Regions from separate parts of the Homo sapiens genome. Here region 1 is linked to region 2. Evidence: promoter capture Hi-C in human tissues and cell types (Jung and others, 2019). All regions are on one chromosome and are shown on one strand. The core of a region is centred on a gene start or on the middle of the fragment in contact, and the rest is flanking DNA. Distances in the headings are between cores, read along the strand shown. Region 1 has its middle 24 kb from the start of SERINC3. Region 2 holds the start of YWHAB (tyrosine 3-monooxygenase/tryptophan 5-monooxygenase activation protein beta).

Evidence for each region. The method cuts DNA at HindIII sites, captures the fragments that hold promoters and counts their contacts. A contact is called where the count stands out against the background at its distance.
Region 1: a contact is called between a fragment that was not itself captured here and the fragment with the promoter of YWHAB in region 2, in 1 of the 25 tissues and cell types used here (dorsolateral prefrontal cortex).

What each region holds. Positions count from the first base shown.
Region 1 is chr20:44,542,340-44,548,812 of GRCh38, forward strand. It overlaps a transcript of PKIG not described here. Among named protein-coding and RNA genes, the nearest start is that of SERINC3, 24 kb to the left of the region's middle. The HindIII fragment of the contact is 6,255 bases long and covers 383-6,473 here.
Region 2 is chr20:44,880,861-44,886,954 of GRCh38, forward strand. It overlaps YWHAB (tyrosine 3-monooxygenase/tryptophan 5-monooxygenase activation protein beta), which reads left to right and starts at 4,845. Exons shown (of 6, transcript NM_139323.4): 1 at 4,845-5,026. RefSeq lists silencers at 4,469-4,528, 4,589-5,138 and an enhancer at 4,575-5,191. The HindIII fragment of the contact is 9,752 bases long and covers 1-6,094 here.

The DNA.
Region 1 (6,473 bases), core at 2,260-4,759, 340 kb before region 2:
CTTCCTTTCTCCCAGTCCTGATTTTGCAAACCTACCTACTCCGTGTTTCTGCTAATCACCAGAATGAAACTTAAAAAAAAAAAGAAAAAGCTGATGGTTTAATCTTGATTTTCAGTGTCAGTTAAGCATAAAATAATTCTATTGTTTTCTTATGTGCATAAGGCTTAACTTTCATTGGTTTTTGATGATCTCTGCATGTTATATATGGTACATATTAAATATAGTGGCCATATTTTTTTTTAATTTCTTTTATAATATTTTTTTCGAGATGGAGTCTAGCTCTGTCTCCCAGGCTGGAGTGCAGTGGCGTAATCTTGGCTCACTGCAGCCTCAGCCTCCGCCTCCTGGGTTCAAGCAATTCTCCTGCCTCAGCCTCCCCAGTATCTGGGACTACAGGCATGCGCCACAATACCCAGCTAATTTTTGTATTTTTAGTAGAGACAGGGTTTCACCACGTTGGCCAGACTGGTCTCGAACTCCTGACCTCAAGTGATAGGCCCACCTCACCCTCCCAAAGTGCTGGGATTACAGGCGTGAGCCACTGTGCCCAGCAGCTATATTTTATAAACCAAAAAATTGGGACTTGTGGTGTGATAAGTATAGTATACTTAGGAAGGTTAGGAGAACAGAATATTTTGAAGAAGTGCACTCTCAGAGAAATGGTCGCTGTGCTTTTATGTATTCATAAGGAAGCAGTACAAAGTTGTGGTTAGGAATGAGGCCCTAGAGTCCTTTGGACATGAATTCACATCTTGGCCCAGGCACTTTCTACTTACTGCACAATATACTTAACCTTTCTAAGCTTCAGAGCTTCCTCACTTGTAAAGTGGATATTATGAGAGTTCCTTGTTTCTTGTGAGGATTGCATGAAATAAAGGGCTCAGCACAGTCTTGGCAGATAGAACTTAACATGTAAATGTCAGCTGTTATGTTTATTACTGTAAAGCCTTTGATACGTGCACACTTATACAGTAAACTTTTTTTTTTTTTGCAAAAACCTGTTCAAAAAGCACTTCTAAAATAACTCAATATTTGCAAACTTACTCTATAGTAAGTTCTTTATCAGGCCTCGTACAGAAAGGGCACAGAAATATTTTGAAGACCGCATGCCCTGTCTTGCATGCCCACTGGGAAGACCTGACTGACTTTGGCCTTCTCAAAATATTTGCATAACTCTCAGCACCTACTCCATTGCTTCTGAGATGACCTCTGCAACGTGTATATGTTTTGGCTGATACAGCCAAACTTGTCCTGGACAGACTTCAAGGTTCACTTAATCTACTGTCACAGGCTTCTTTCCCTAAGATTTTCTTGGTTGTGCCCTCCCTAGAGTATTGGCTTCTTCCTCAGGCTAGCAGCAAAATAGCTGCAGTAGGCCTAGGCCCCAGATTTATGTATGGCACCCACCTAAGGAATAGAAAGATTGTCTTGGCTGGGCGCGGTGGCTTACACCCGTAAAATACCTGTAATCCCAGCACTGTGGGAAGCCGAGGCGGGTGGATCACCTGAGGTCAGGAATTCGAGACCAGCCTGACCAACATGGTGAAACCCCGTCTCTACTAAAAATACAAAAAATTAGCCGTGTGTGATGGTAGACGCCTGTAGTCCCAGCTACTCGGGAGGCTGAGGCAGGAGAATCGCTTGAACCTGGGAGGTGGAGGTTGCAGTGAGCTGAGGTCACACCACTGCACTCCGACCTGGGCAACAAGAGCAAAACTCCGCCTCAAAAAAAAAAAAAAAAAAGATTGTTCCTTAGAGTGAGAATTTTTCTCAGAAGCCTCCAGAGAACTACCCTAGAATCTCATTGGCCTGGACTGGGTCATATGCTCATTCCTGAGCCAATTTTTGTTAGTAGGGCAATGTGATGCCCTGATGGGCTTAGGCCTGGTTCTTGAACAAGCCATTTACAAGAGGGATGAAATTATCTCTAGACCATTCAGAAACAGAATTGTGTTTCTGTTAGGAAAATTTTTTTTTTTCTATGAGTAGGTGAATGGACGCTGAGTAGATTGGTCGAAGAGGAATTGTGTTGGCTGCTGATAACAGTGCTTTAAAGAAGACAGGTTATTTTTCTCTCAAAAAATATTAAGTCCAAAGTAGATAGTCTGTTCCTGGCATGGCAGTTCCACAGTGCCATCAGGCAGCCTAGATCTTTCTCTCTTTCTGTTTCACCATGCTTATCACACAGCTTGCAGTCACCAAGTGGTCGCACGTGTTGGCTCTGGCTCTCTAGCCAAACGGTCTTTGAGGCAGGAAGAAGTAGGAAAGGGGAGGGCAGAGGACACCCTTTAAAGTACCCTAAGTCCCAACCACCATGTTCAGTTTACATCTCATTGTCCATTCTTACTTGTGAAGAAGGCTGGTAAATGCAGTTTCTTAGCTGTACACATTGCCATTCCCCAAAACAGGGATTCTGCAGCTGTGGAAGAATGAGAAATAGATACAAGCCTGGAAGTGGGCAGTGCCCACCACAGGAGGCGGCCAACAATGTCAGCTATACCCTGTATTTGGAGAAAATTGCAGTTTTTACATTGACTTTCCTCTTTCTTTTCTTTTCTTTTCTTTCTTTCTTTCCTTCCTTCTTTCTTTTTTTTTTTTTTTTTTTTTTTTTTTTGAGATGGAATCTTGCTCTGTGGCCTGAGCTGGAGTACGGTGGCACAATCTTGGTTCACTACAACCTCCACCTCCTGGGTTCAAGCAATTCCCCTGCCTCAGCTTCTGGAGTAGCTAGGATTACAGGCGTGCCCCACCATGCCCAGCTAATTTTTGTATTTTTAGTAGAGACAGGGTTTTGCCATGTTGGCCAGGCCAGTCTCGAACTCCTGACCTCAGGTGATCCACCCACCTTGGCCTCCCAAAGTGCTGGGGTTACAGGTGTGAGCCACTGCGCCTGCAATGCCCGGCCTGCATTATAAATATTTGTTCATAATGTGTTGCTAACAGTGACAATCAATAAGAATCAACTGGGTTTGTTCCCCAGCCTGTTTAGTTTTATTATTGTGATTACAAAATAATTAAATATTATGTTAACCAATGAAATGTAAAGGGAAAAAGGAAAAAAGATACTGCTTTTATGAAAAATAAGTTGAATGTGCTTACCTGATAAAGGCAAATGGCTAAGAAAAAATATTTTTGTCAAATTAGGGGTGGAAGAGACCTCTGAAAAGATTGAAGAAAAAAATTATAAAAATATGGAGATTCTGACAGATAGGGTAACTCTCACCTGTAATCCTAGCACTGGGAGGCTGAGGCAGGAAGATTACTTGAGGCCAGGAGTTTGAGACCAATCTGGGCAACAGTGAGACCCCGTCTCTACAAAAAGAAAATTAGCCAGATGTGGTGGTGTGTCCCTGTAGTCCTAGCTACTTGGGAGGCTGAAGTGGGAGGATCACTTAAGCCCAGGAGTTTGAAGTTACAGTGAACTATCATCACGCCACTGTACTTACTCCAGCCTGGGACACAGAGTAAGACCCTGTCTCCAAAACATATATATACATATATGTTTCTGCCTTCAGAACACTTCACAAGTATCATTCCAGTAAAAACTGAAAATCATAGATGTACATCATGAGTGTAGTTCATGCAGAAACTTTAATTGCTTGAACTTACTCTCAAGAAAAGGCCTTCACTGGGCACAGTGGCTCATGTCTATAATCCCAGCACTTTGGGAGGCTGAGGCAGGTGGATTACTTGAGTCCAGGAGTTCGAGACACAAGCCTGGGAAATACAGCAAAACCCTGTCTCTACAAAAAATACAAAAATTAGCAGGTTGTGGTGGTGCATGCCTGTACTCCCAACTACTCGGAGGCTGAGGTGGGAGAATCACCTGAGCCCAGGGAGGTTGAGGCTGCAGTGAGCCATGATCATGCCATTGCAGTCCAGCATGGGTGACAGGGAGAGACCCTGTCTCAGAGAAGAGAAGGAGAGGAGAGAGGAGAGGAGAGGCTTTCATCCCTTAGCCAGTATTTGGAAAATAAACATGCATTTTTAATGATTCCTCTCTTTAACTGTATTTTTTAAAAAATGAGTTATACCATTATTAGTTCTGATTCCATCAAGGAGAGAACTTCTACTTTGTTTCTTAAGTTGTTATGTATGGGTTACTGTGTATCAATTGAAATGAATATCACCAGGCCTTATTGTTGGTCATTATAAATTGTGCCCTGGTGAACTTCTTTCCAGAGACATCTTCTCTAGTATATTTTTTGTTTTTTTGAGTTCTTTTTTTTTTGAGACAGAGTCTTACTTTGTTGCTTATGCTGGAGTGCAATGGTACAATCTTGGATCACTGTAGCCTCTACCTTCCCAGTTCAGGCGATTCTCCTGCCTCAGCCCCCCGGGTAGCTGGGACTACAGGCATGCACCACCACTCCCGGCTAATTTTTGTATTTTTAGTAGAAACGGGGTTTCACCATGTTGACCAGGTTGGTCTCGAGCTCCTGACCTCAGGTAATTCCACCCGTCTCAGCGTCCCAAAGTGCTGGGATTACAGATATGAGCCACTGCACCCAGGCCCCTCACTGATTTTAAATAATGTGAAGTTTGGAATGTCTCAGGGAGTTCAATGTAATGGAATTTGTCCTGATGTTATTTCTTTTTCCAAATCACATAGCACTTCAAACTTTTCTTTTTATAACATTTCTCATAAATAGTCCTCCTCCATAATTACCTTTGTGTTTATTTTGTGTCTGCTACTAAACTCTTAGCTTGTTGAGGACAGGAGTCCTTCCTTGGACCTCTGTACATCCTAACATACAATGGGTGCTCAATTTATGTTCATGGAATGAGAGAATGAATCAATGTCACTGTCTTCTATTATTGCATAGACATCTTCAGTAACACTTCCTTTGAATTCATTGTCAGTGGAGCTAGTCTTGTAGCCTTTTCAATAGCTTACATTCCGTGTTGGAGCAAAAAATGTTAAATGTTTATAAGGTAATTTCAAATATAAGCAAAAGTAGAGAGAATGGTATAAAGAAACCTCCATTATCTATAATCAAGCTTCAACAATTACCAGCATTTTAGAGCAAATTTTGATTTAGGATAAGGGTAGAGAGAATATGATGACATCAGGATGCTGATTTTGATTTTGTGGGGAGAGAAGCAGGCCATGTGTGGTGAGCAGGGTAGAGAAAGAGGAGGCTGGTGGCCCAAATACAAACCTGCCTCATAGGAGTTGTCTTGAGGATCACTTGAGTTGACATAGGAAAGTGGGAAGAACAATGCCTCACACATGGTGAGTACAGCCTAAGTGCTCCCACCACCATTACTATCACTCCTGCGTAGTTTGTGGGAGCTGAATGTGGGAGCTGTGGCACTTACTAACTTGGTGACTTTGGACACCGACCTTTCTGAGCTGCAGTTTCTTCGTCGGAAAAAATGGGAATAGTAATAACATCTTAAACATAGCATTGGCGGGGCGCGGTTGCTCATTCCTGTAATCCCAGCAGTTTGGGAGGCCAAGGTGGGCGGATCATTTCAATTCAGGAATTTGAGACCAGCCTAACCAACATGGTGTTGGTTTTAATGGAGAACCCTGTTCTCCATTAAAAATAGGCTGGGCATGGTGGCTCATGACTTGTAATTCCAGCACTTTGAGAGGCTGAGGCAGGCGGATCACTGGAGATCAGGAGTTCGAGATCAGCCTGGCCAACATGGTGAAACCTCGTCTCTACTAAAAATACAAAAAATTAGCCGGGTGTGGTGTTGTGCACCTGTAATCCCAGCTACTCAGGATGCTGGGGCAGGAGAATTACTTGAACTTGGGAGGTGGAGGTTGCAGTGAGCCGAGATCGCACAACTGCACTCCAGCCTGGATGATAGAGCAAGACTGTCTAGAAAAACAAAAAAACCCAAAAAAGGTAGCATCTTATCCCACACAGGCAGTGGAATAATATATGTAAATATGTTCTGGGTTAATTAACATTAATCACAATTTTCCAGAGTGGTTTTCTAGTCTGGAGGGAGGGACCATGTTTCTGGAGGTTTTTTCGGGAGTCAAGCCAATTCCTTCTGTGTATTCTCATTCTGAGACTTCATAATATTCGTGGCAGAGTCATTTGTCAGCCTAGCAAATAAACATTACAGGACAATAGGCTTTGTTTCCGTTTGCAAAATGTTTTTTAAATAATGAAAACAATTTTACTTTATGTAGCTTGTCCATATATGCACTGAAAATGAAATACTTATCAACCAAGTTGATAAAGGGATAAAAATAGTTTTCCTAAGGAAAACTATTTGCTGGGGATTTGTGTTGGACAAGTTTTGTAGCAGTCTGTTTCCCCGTCTTTGAAATATAAACAGCATCTTTATTTGTCTAGATTTTGCTTATAACAATTTGCTCAACTCCTAATTAAAGATAGCTCTGTCATCCACACATCACTTAGCTACTTTCCTAAAGCCAGAATTTCTTTAGAAAATCAGTTTTCTTTTAAGACTTCAAAACACTTTGCCTTCTCCTTAGTACTATAAAG
Region 2 (6,094 bases), core at 3,595-6,094:
CAGGCTGGAGTACAGTGGCTATTCACAGGCACCATCCCACTACTGATCAGCACGGGAGTTTTGACCTGCTCTGTTTCCAACCTTGGCCAGTTTACCCCTTCTTAGGCAATCTGGTGGTTCCCTGCTCCCGGGAGGTCATCATATTGATGCTGAACTTAGCGCAGACGCCCAGGCAACATAGTGCACTGCAGCCCAGAACTCCTGGCCTCAAGCGATCCTCCTGCCTCAGCCTCCTGAGTAGCTGGGACTACAGGCACGCGCCACCACACCTGGCCAGTTTACTAGTTTCTAACAAAGCTAAACATTGTCTTAACGTATAATCTAACAGTCACACTCTTAGGTATTTACTCAAACAAGTTGAAAACTTATGCCCAAACAAAAACCTGCACACAGATGTTTATCATGGTTTTCTTCATAATTGTCAACAGCTGGATCAAGATAGCTCTCAGTAGGTCTATTAGTTCCCTAAGCCTGCCATAACAAAGGGCCACAAACTGGGTGGCTTAAAACCACAAAAACATATTCTCTCACCATTCTGGAGGCTAGAAGTCTAAAATCAGTGTGACAGCAGAGTCTTGCTCCCTTTGAGACTCTGGGTAGAATCCTTCCATGCCTCTTCCTGGCTTCTGGTGCTGCCCAGCAATCCTTAGTGTTCCCTGGCTCACAGCTCATCACTCCAGTCTCGGCCTCCATTGTCATGTGTTGTTTCCCATGTGTGTCCTGTCTTCAGATGGCATTTTCCTCCTTCTTTAGGGCACCAGCCACGTTGGATTAGGACCCACTCGAATGACCTCATTTTAATTGATTATACTGCAAAAGCCCTTTTCCAAATAAGGTCACATACACAGATTCCAAGGGTGAAAGCTTCAGCATATCTTTCTGGAGGATACAAGTCAATCCTTAAGAATAGGTTAATGGGCCAGGTGTGGTGGCTCACACCCGTAATCCCAGCACTTTGGGAGGCCGAGACAGGCAGATCACCTAAGGTCAGGAGTTTGAGACCAGCCTGGCCAACATGGCAAAACCCTGTCTCTATTAAAAATAAAAAATTAGCTAGGCATGGTGGCACACACCAATAATCTCAGCTACTTGAGAGGCTGAGGCAAGACTCACTTGAACCTGGGAGGCGGAGGTTGCAGTGAGCTGAGATCATGCCACTGCACTCCAGCCTGAGCAACAGAGTGAGACTCTCTCTGGAAAAAAAAAAAGAATAAGTTCATGCATAAACACAATATGGTAGATTCATACAAGGGGATTTTTTAAGCAATCAAAAGAAATAAGTTATCAAATCATAAAAAGACATGAAGGAAACTTAAATCACATTACTTAATAAAACAATCCAGTCAGAAAAGGCGACATATGTGCTGGGTACAATGGCTCACACTTTATTACCCAGCACTTTAGGAGGCCAAGGCAAGAGGATTGCTTGAGCCTGGGTGTTCAAGACCAGCCTGGGCAACATGGCAAAACCCCATCTCTATAAAAAATACAAAAATTAGCTGGGTGTGGTGGCACACGCCTGTAGTCCCAGCTACTAGGGAGGCTGAGGTGGGAGAATCACTTGAACCCAGGAGGTCGAGGCTGCAGTGAGCTGTGATTGCACTACTGCACTCCAGCCTGGGTGACAGAGTGACACCCTGTCAAAAAAAAAAAAAAAGAAGGAAGGAAAGAAAGAAAGAAAGAAAGAAAGAAAGCGAGCAACATATTGTATGATGTAACTATATGACATTCTAGAAAAGGTAAAACTATAGTGTAAAAGGTCTGCGGTTGCCAAAGGTTGGGGTGAGGGGAGGGAGTGAGGGATGAAGAGTTGAAGCAAAGATTTTTAGGACAGTAAAACTTTTATTTATATACATGACATTATGCATGTGTCAAAACCTATAGAACTATGTACAACATAAAGAATGAACCCCAATGTAAACTACGGACTTTAGTTAATAATGATGTATTAATACTGGCTCATCAATTGCAACAAATGTACCACTCTAATACAAGATGTTAATAATAGGGGAAATTGTGTGGAGGAGGGAGAGGGAATGTGGGAACTCTGTAATATCTGGTCAATTTTTCTGTAAACCTAAAACTGTTCTAAAAAATTAAGTCTATTGGCCAGGCACAGTGGCTCACACCTGTAATCCCAGCACTTTGGGAGGCCATGGCAGGAGAATCACTTGAGGCCAGGAGTTTGAGCCCAGCCTGGGCAACATAATGAGACTCTGTCTCTACAAAAACATTTTTAAAAATTAAGTCTATAATTTGAAAAAAGATTCACTGCAGTATATAAGGCTCTAGTATCACTTCTTTAAGGAAATCTTTCCTGCTCTCCCATCATATTCCCAAGATGGGTTAGGTGCTCTTCTCCCAAGCTCCCATAATACCCTGCACATATATTTATTTCTATGGTTGCACCTACCACATTGTATTTTAACATTTATCTGTATCGCTGTCAGTTCATAGCTGTGGTTTGCTGACGCTTGGCCTAGAATGCAGAGATGGTGAAATAAGCTAATCCATTGAACCCTTTAACAGGCACCTAGGAATGCCTGACAAAGGGCACTTCTGTTCCCTCAATGCACTGTTGATGTCATTTGTGGTATAATCATTATTAGCCCTCTGGTCCATTAGGCTATTTTCTGGATGACGGCATAAGGCACAGTCTTGTGACATTAAAAGTTACTTAGCCTGAGTAGTCTCTAGATTACTGGTCTAGGGTCTGCCAAAGACGATCCTCATGGGGAAGTTTTTGCACTAACCTCTCCAGGATTCAAATCCAATGGTTTTGACCCAAAACCATGCTGTTTACGTTACACAACACGTTCTCAATCTTGTTCAACTTAAAAGGTGGCACAGTACAGGGGTCACTGGCACACATGCCTACATGACAGATAACATAAGTGACAAAAGCAGACTCAGGTCGAGAAGGGTCCCTGGCATTTGGGAAAGTCCATGCCCAGTCTAGAACAGGCAGCCACTCCTTGGCTTCAGCCAATTGTTGCCACACAGAAATGTGGACACAGTGTTACCAGACAAGGCAGAGAGGCAGATTTCTGTTCACACAGAAACTTTTCAGTTTAAAAAAGTGTTGGCAACTAAGTCAAACTGCTTAGAAATACTGGAGATGGCATATTGGGAGGGTAAGGAATCATCCAATTGAATTGGGGTATTTACGATGGGGGAGAAATAGCAGCTAAAGGATAAGGGCAGCTTTTGGAGAACCCTGATTGTCACACTCAAGGAACTTATATATTGTCATCTAGGTCTGAGTGCACACTAAATAATTTAAGCAAGAACAGGACACGATTAGAATGGTATTTTTAAAAGATCACTTGGCAGTTGACGGGCGAGGCTGAGACCAAATGGTGAATTAGAAGTCTGTCATTTAGCTAAGTAAGGGTAAAGGCAAGACGGCAAAGGCCTATTTACTTGGCTTTTTCTCCTACCCGACTGCAAACTCCAAGACAGCAGGGCCCCACCTGCCTTGTTCATTGCTGTGTCTCCAGCACTAAGCAAAAAGCCTGTTCAACATTTGTTGAAAGAATAAATGAACAGGAGAGAGGGAAGGCGAGAGGCATTTTGAAGGACTGAGTTTAAAAATCAACTACCTTGAAGCCGGTCGAGGTGGTTCATGTCTGTAATCCCAGCACTTTGGGAGGCTGAGGCGGGTGGATCACCTGAGGTCAGGAGTTTGAGACCAGCCCGGCCAATATGGCGAAGCCCCGTGTCTACTAAAAATACAAAAACTAGCCGAGAGTGGTGGCATGCACCTGTTATCCCAGCTACTCAGGAGGCTGAGGCAGGAGAATTGCTTGAACCTGGGAGGCAGAGATTGCAGTGAGCCAAGATTGTGACACTGCCTGGGCGACAGAAAGAGACTCTGTCTCAAAAACAGAAAACAAAACAAAACAAAACAAAACAAAATCAACTACCTTCAGAGGAGTAGAATGTTGGTAATTGTGAGAGCAGTCATGGAGGGGAGGGGAGCCATGGAGGCCTGTTTCCTTCCCTGAACTTCCTCAACGAGGGGGCATCTTAAAGAAGAAATCATGTACACAGATTTTTGTGGGTTTTTTTTGGAGACAGGGTCTCACTCTGTCTCCCAGGTTGGAGTGCAGTGGCATGACCATAGCTCACTGCAGCCTACAACTCCCGGCCTCAAGCAATCCTCTCACCTCAGCTTCCCAAAGTGCTGAGATTACAGGCGCGAACCACTGCGCTCGACCCTACACAGGTTTTTTAAAAAGACGTTTGTGCATTGGATTCCTGGCACTTCACGTGGCCTCTTCAGTCTACCAAAGAAGGAAAAGGTAAGTACCCTGAAGGATTGAAAGGATTAAATGAACATTGAGGGATGAGCAATTTCTGTTCTTCCCTGGCTCCAGCATTACCAAAGCACACAGTAAGAGGACTGACATCGGCCTCCGACCCAGTGAGGATTACTTTCGGGGTGGAGGGGGAACTGCTAAACCTCGAATCTCCGGGACTGGCCCTGGCGCGTTTCCAGTCCCAGCAGAAAGGGCAATCCCCATCCAGACCACACTCCTAGTCCTCCTTATTCCCACACAGCCCGTATCTTGACCACCCCCAGCTCCGCCCTCTCTCCTCCCACCTCCTTTTCCCGCTCCCCCGCCCCATTTCCTTCTTCTCCGCCCACCTCCTCCTGGGTCCCTCCCCCGGCCATCCGCCCTGCCCCGGCCCCTGCAACCCTGCCTTTCGCTCTTCTTCCTCCTCCCTTCCGTCTGCGCCCCTCCCGTGGGGCCGTGGCAACCCCGTGCCTCGCTTGCCCAATGAGAACACGGTTTGGGGCGGGGCGCGGCCAGGACCGGAGCGGAAGTGGCGATCGGAGCGGAAGTGGAGCTACCGCCACCGCCGCCGCCGATTCCGGAGCCGGGGTAGTCGCCGCCGCCGCCGCCGCTGCAGCCACTGCAGGCACCGCTGCCGCCGCCTGAGTAGTGGGCTTAGGAAGGAAGAGGTCATCTCGCTCGGAGCTTCGCTCGGAAGGGTCTTTGTTCCCTGCAGCCCTCCCACGGTGAGTGCGGCGCGGGGTCCGACCGGGGCCCCCGGGGGCCCAAACTCGAAGCCCCTCTCTGGCTGCTGCGACGACGGCGGCCCAGTGGGTGGGCCCCGTGGGGTAGCGGCGCGCTGCCTCTTTCGCTCCGCGCGGCCGCCGGCGGCGAGGCCAGACCTCGCAGCGGCCCCTCCCTGTTTCCGGGGCCGGGCCCTTTACCTCTTGGAGAGGCTCGGGCCGCCTGAGGTCCTGCCGGCCGGGCGGGGTGCAACTCCGTACTGTGCCGTAAGGGACAGCGGAGCCGGGGATCCCGGACCCTCCCTCACTATCTGCTTCGGGCCCCACGCGACCCCTCCCTGCGTCTTGGTCGGCAAGAACGTCCCCTTCAGCCCTGTCACCTCTGCTCCGTGCTTTCTGGTTTCCAGAAATTAAAATTTAATCAAACGCGGATGAGTTTTCTAGCCCCAGTCCCCGTGTTTGGCTCCTCCTGGATGAGTAAGGGGTTTAACCTTGGGAGACAGCAGTGGGGGAACCCCCTCCCATTTTGCAGTAAAACCATTTCATCATCCTTCACTGGTTATGGAGCCTGGCAGGACCCAAGATTCCCTAGGAAGGGAATTGGGTTTGAATCAAGAAAATCTGTTTGTTGGAGCCGGTTACTGAGTCAGGCCGGATCCCCAGGAAAAAATATCAGGGGGTGAGAATCGGAGTATTTTCTCACAGTATTTACCGTCATTTAATGCCAGATTCTTTTGTGTCTTTACCCCAAATTCCCCCATATTGTGTGTTAGCACGTTTTTCGGTCTGAAATTTGCCCGGTGGCTTCCTGGTCGGGGGGTGGGGAGCGGAGGGAAGAAGAGGTGGGAAGGTGAGTGCATCTTTGCCGCAAATGGAGAACTCCCATATAATGGGGTTTTCAGAGGTGGCAGCCTTGGTAAGCAATTTGCCAACCTTTCTGTAAAATACATGTTTCTTGTCGTTGCCTTCATTGCATTTCTCTTTGGTAAGGCTAGATAGCATCAGGTCCTGATTTTGCTTGCCCTGTGTGGGAGATGGAATTTGGCAAGATGATGCTATGAACATAAAATC